Linked DNA regions of Homo sapiens: region 2 is linked to region 1. The links are contacts of gene promoters, found by promoter capture Hi-C in human tissues and cell types (Jung and others, 2019). All regions are on one chromosome and are shown on one strand. Each heading gives the region's core, a stretch centred on a gene start or on the middle of the fragment in contact. The rest is flanking DNA. Distances are from core to core; before and after follow the strand shown.

What was found. The method cuts DNA at HindIII sites, captures the fragments that hold promoters and counts their contacts. A contact is called where the count stands out against the background at its distance.
Region 2: a contact is called between a fragment that was not itself captured here and the fragment with the promoter of CA14 in region 1, in 1 of the 25 tissues and cell types used here (hippocampus).

What each region holds. Positions count from the first base shown.
Region 1 is chr1:150,256,517-150,259,216 of GRCh38, forward strand. It overlaps CA14 (carbonic anhydrase 14), which reads left to right and starts at 1,258. Exons shown (of 11, transcript NM_012113.3): 1 at 1,258-1,667. The coding sequence starts at 1,613. RefSeq lists an enhancer at 1-142. The HindIII fragment of the contact is 12,121 bases long and covers 1-2,700 here.
Region 2 is chr1:151,318,902-151,321,601 of GRCh38, forward strand. All of the region lies in intron 1 of PI4KB (phosphatidylinositol 4-kinase beta), which reads right to left. Among named protein-coding and RNA genes, the nearest start is that of PI4KB, 7.2 kb to the right of the region's middle. The HindIII fragment of the contact is 7,586 bases long and covers 1-2,700 here.

The DNA of each region.
Region 1 (2,700 bases), core at 8-2,507:
TATCCTGCTCCCTTATTTAGCTTCTGCTCCCTTTGTTTGGCTATTTATTGCTACTCGGCAGGAGCAAGGAGGGCAGAGGGAGCTTCAGATGGGTGCATCCTCCTGGCTGGTGCCTCTGGTGAAGAGCATGGAGGAGAAAGAGGTTTCAATGTCTGGCTTGAAAGTATCTGTGGGTTTCACATTCTCTAACGAGGGATTTAGGATGTACATTCCAATCGGGATTTCCAGTCCCGTGGGGAGCAAACATCAGTTCACATTCCTGAGACGTGCAGCCTCCATGCTCCACGGACGCAGCTCCTTGGTGGCAGGTTTCATTCAGTGCCACATGTCCTGCCTCAGCCCTTTGTTGGGCTGGAAGGAAGACCCTGAGCCCCTCTTCCATCTGGATCACATGGTCTCTCCAGACCCTCCCCTCTCTTTCTCTGGAAACCACCTTTTTCTGATGGTGGTAGTGATTGTTCCTAAAGTCTCTCCTTTCCTCCTGCCCTGGCCTCTCTGCCGGAGGTCAGTGTCCTCTTCAGTGACAAAAGCCGCCCTAGATCTGGGCTCCCTGGAGAGGGAGGTGGCTGGGTCTGGCAGTTACAGCCGCTGTCTCTCCATGGTGCTGCTACACCCCTCCCCCACTGGGCATACAAATGGGCTTTATCCAGCAAACAACGCTCCCTCCCCGCACTCCCCCCACCCCAGGCCACACAGGCACGTGGACCCAGGCCTCACCGTGGGAAGGGGGTGGTGGCAGGCACAGAAGAGATTGCTCCAGATGAGTTCTCCTTGCCTCACTTCTCTTCCTTAGAACTTAGGACACAACTCAGGTTTTAGTTATTGACTTCCTCCACCCCTCCCCTGCACCCTGAGTCCCTAATTCCTTCTTGTTATATATCTCCTAATTCTGGACTCTTCCCATTCCAGGGCAGCTCAGATTATGCAGGGAATTGGGAACAGGTACCCCCACCATCTGCCGCATACCACCCAGGGAGCTGCTCCTCAGAGGAGAAATCAGGCGGGGGGATGAAAATACAGTGTCCTTTTGAGGGGGCTGAGTTGAACCCCAAAGCCCCTTCCTTGACCCTGCCTGCTCCAGGGAACACCCATCTAAACAGCATCTGTGTGACTAGCAGAGGAAGGAAGAGCTCACCCCAGCTGGGCTCCTGAGCCAGGGCCAGGGCTCCAGTGAAACTTGCCGCGCTCCAGCTCCGAGTGGGGCCATCCTGCATGCCTAATTGGCTATTTAAGGAGCTGTTCACCAGCAGCCCAGGCAGCACCCCCGTCCCCACATACACCAGTTCAGAGCCACCTTAAAAGCAGGAGGCAGTTGTAAAGTCGCTGGCCAGCTAGTGGAGTGGAGACTGCAGAGGGAGATAAAGAGAGAGGGCAAAGAGGCAGCAAGAGATTTGTCCTGGGGATCCAGAAACCCATGATACCCTACTGAACACCGAATCCCCTGGAAGCCCACAGAGACAGAGACAGCAAGAGAAGCAGAGATAAATACACTCACGCCAGGAGCTCGCTCGCTCTCTCTCTCTCTCTCTCACTCCTCCCTCCCTCTCTCTCTGCCTGTCCTAGTCCTCTAGTCCTCAAATTCCCAGTCCCCTGCACCCCTTCCTGGGACACTATGTTGTTCTCCGCCCTCCTGCTGGAGGTGATTTGGATCCTGGCTGCAGATGGGGGTAGGTACAACTAAATGTCTGTGTGTGGATTTGTGCTGATGTTCACATGTCGCCAGGTGTGCTTAATGGGGGGAGGAGAGGTGTGAAAGGAAGCCTAGAGGCTGGAATAATAGGCTCAGAGATGAGGAAAAAAGAGTGGGGTGTGGAGGAGACCACTTCCCTTCTTTACCTTTTGTCTCTCCAGCCTTGTTGTTATTGGAGGTCGGGGAGAACTAGCGGCAGGCAGGCAGAGTGTGTACACATGCAAGTGCTGGAATCTCTTTGCAGGCTACAGATTTTCTCCAGAGCTCTTTCCCCCACTGCCCTGGTCCCAGGCAGGACTCCTGGACTTCTTTATTTACAAACTCCTCCAAATAGGGAGTCAAAGAGGCCTGGAGTAAAAAGATGGATAGATGGGGGTAGGGGGAAGAATACTTCCTGCCCAACTCAGACCCTGATCTCCAATTCATCCCCTTTTGGCCAAGATTCCCTCTTCATTCTGTGGAGCGACTAACTCCCCAGTTATCCTCTGAAAGTGGCAGTAAGAGTCAACATTTGTTTGACATTTTACAGTTTACAAAGGACTTTCAGGAGCTCCCAGGAGATGAGGAGGGATTCTTGGGAGAACAGGCTGAAGCGCTCCAGGAGTGTCCCCAGGAACTCCTAGACCTCATTTTTGTGTTTCCTGTGCCTAGCACAGTGTCCAGCACATACTAGGTGTGTAACTGAGGTTTGTGGAAAGAGCAGGGTGAGGTGGGTGTCCAGAGAGCAGAAGGCAAATGCAGAGAGGATGGGGGCAGGCAGGCAGCCAAATGGAGAGTCACAAATCTCATCTGAGGAGAAAGAAAAAAAGAGGGAAAGAGGAGGAAGAGACAGAATAAGTGTGTTGAGGCTCTGACCAGAGTGGACAGGCACCTTTACAGACCAGGGAGTTTGAGTTGTTGGGGGGTCCCACAGATATGGTAAAATGAGAGGCTGCCTCCAGCTCTCCCTTGGGCTAGCAGAATAGGTCAAGGATAAGAGCAGGACATCTCACAAGTTTGAGGAATTTAAG
Region 2 (2,700 bases), core at 131-2,630, 1.1 Mb after region 1:
CGTTTCTCTGGTTGTCTGACATCATGACATCACACCCTCTTTCTCCAGTGCCGTGGCTGCTAACATATAATGGAAAGAGCTCTGGACTTGAAGGCAAATAGGCTGGGGTTGAAAATCCTCATTCAGCCTTTCAGAAATGTGCAACTTATGCAAGCCATTTATCCTCAACTGCAAATTGGGAAAAAACACTTCCTTCTCATTGTTGCTATGTGGAACAAATACCATCACGTGTATGAAAGAATCTAGCACAGTCTTTGATACATAGTAGTACTCAATATATGCTAGTTGAGGCCGGGCACAGTGACTCATGCCTGTAATCCCAGTGCACTGGGTGGCTGAGGCAGGTGGATCACTTTGAGGTCAGCAGTTCAAGACCAGCGAGACTCTGTCTCAAAAAAAAAAAAAAGAAATGCTAGTTGAATCCTCATCACCTAAAAGGTTACTAACCAGTGTGTGTGTAACATAAAACTTATATTATTTTATAAGGGAAGCAAAGAGTTCCAATTGTTTGAGAATCTTCCAGAAATACTTATGACAGCCTTTTCTGCCCCAATACCACTCCCCCCACTGTCATACACACATTCTAACAACTGGAGGGACAATTGAAAAGGCAAAAAGAAATCAGACTAGGACTCATAGATCTAGGCCTTCCAAAGAACAGGGAGGAACAGGAGTCACAAAACAAAGAACACCTCCTCTGGAGGGACTGTTGGAAGGAAGTTCAATGAAAGAACACTGCTGACCAAAGCCACTGCTCTCCAAGAACAATCCTTCAGAGCCTCACCAAATCTGGAATCAGTGCAGAACTGGGGAAATTTCATCAGATCAACCTGGCTCCAGAATCTGACTATAGCTAACAAAGGACTCAGACTCAGAGGCCTCTTCACAAAAATGCTAATAGAGTGAGTCTAAGACACACTCAAGAGCATGAGCAAGAGGAAAGATTTTGTAGAGTTGGAATACAGGTAATTTCAAAATATTAGTGACATCACCTTCAACCCCGGTGACCCTGGATGCATATACTTTGGGTAGGTGGAATAAGGAGGCCTAGAGATTCTTTAGTCCCTCTGGGAGGCTGTTTTCCACCACCACCCTTCCAGTGTCTGTTCTTGTACGTCTGAAATGTTAAGGTTACTTTTTTTTTCTTTTTGAGACGGAGTCTCGCTCTGTCGCCCAGGCTGGAGTGCAGTGGTGCAATCTTGGCTCACTGCAAGCTCCGCTTCCCGGGTTCATGCCATTCTCCTGCCTCAGGCTCACAAGTAGTTGGGACTACAGATGCCCGCCACCACGCCCGGCTAATTTTTTGTATTTTTAGTAGAGGCAGGGTTTCACCATGTTAGCCAGGATGGTCTCGATTTCCTGACCTCGTGATCTGCCCACCTCGGCCTCCCAAAGTGCTGGGATTACAGGTGTGAGCTGCCGCGCCCGGCCCCAGGTTACTTTTAACTGCCCAATATCATATAGTCCAGCTCCCTGCCTCCCAGCAGTCACCACTAAAGTTTTGCAGAAAGACGGATGGGGAACTCTTCTGTTCTCAGAGATCACCAAAAAAGGCTATTTCTGTTTCTTTCTGCCAACTCTGCCAAGCAAGTTCATTCCTGAATTTAATATCCCTGATGCAGATTGAGCTTGGTATTGGTAAGAAGGTGGCAACTCTTTCACTATGCTCTCTCCCAAAATTAGGTAGTGCCCTCTGAGCAGTAGAACCAGCATGGCTGCCTATGTGGATCTGTCCCTACTCGCAACTGTGAGTTGCACAGGAATAATAAGAAGGAAGCTTTAATCATTCCCTGCCACACCTTCGTAGGGCACTCTCATCAGAGGGTCACCGATTCAACGGGGACCACTACCTTTTAGGTCTGCTTAGAAACTCATGTGATAGCCTCAATCATCTTAAACAATCAACTTCTTTTTCTCAGTCTCTATGTTTGGTACATCCTTTCCTCTCCCTCTAGTCCACAGACTTTTAAGTCACTGAAAGCTCCTAGAAGTACACTTTTCAAAACTTTCAAGGGAAATACAGTTCAGACATTCTCCCACATAATAGTGTCTCAGACCTCACTAGAAAATTTAGCAGATGCCTGCCCCAATTAACTACGATTGGGATTATTACTGGCACCAGGAAGGCAAATAAGGATACTATCACCTCTTTTATCTCACAGACAAAAGAAAAACTCCCAGGGCTCAGCTAAGAATCACATCACAGTATTCAGAGGATTTTGCTACTGAACAGACTCTCCCTCCCGGCAGCTTTTACTCCTCAGGGAGCTAGACAGTGTTGAGAGGTGCAGGAAAAAACAGACTCCTCTCCTATATAAGCAGCTCTACCACTAGAAACCACCAAACTGGAGCTGGGTCTCTTCCCTGGCCTCTCAGGAACCCAGGCACTGCCTGCATCTGAAGCAAGTCATATGGAGAAGAAGGTGTTGTAGGGAATAGGGTTAAATTGCTTTAGCTATTTATTATTACTATTATTTTTATTTTATTTATTTTTTTGAGACAGAGTCTTGCTCTGTTGCCCTGGCTGGAGTGGAGTGCAGTGGCGCAATGTTGGCTCACCGCAACCTCCGCCTCCCAGGTTCAAGCGATTCTCCTGCCTCAGCCTCCCAAGTAGCTGGGATTACAGACACCCGCCACCATGCCCAGCTTGCTTCATTTAGTTTTGAATGCCAAGAAAATATGCCTTTGTGGGCAGGGCAT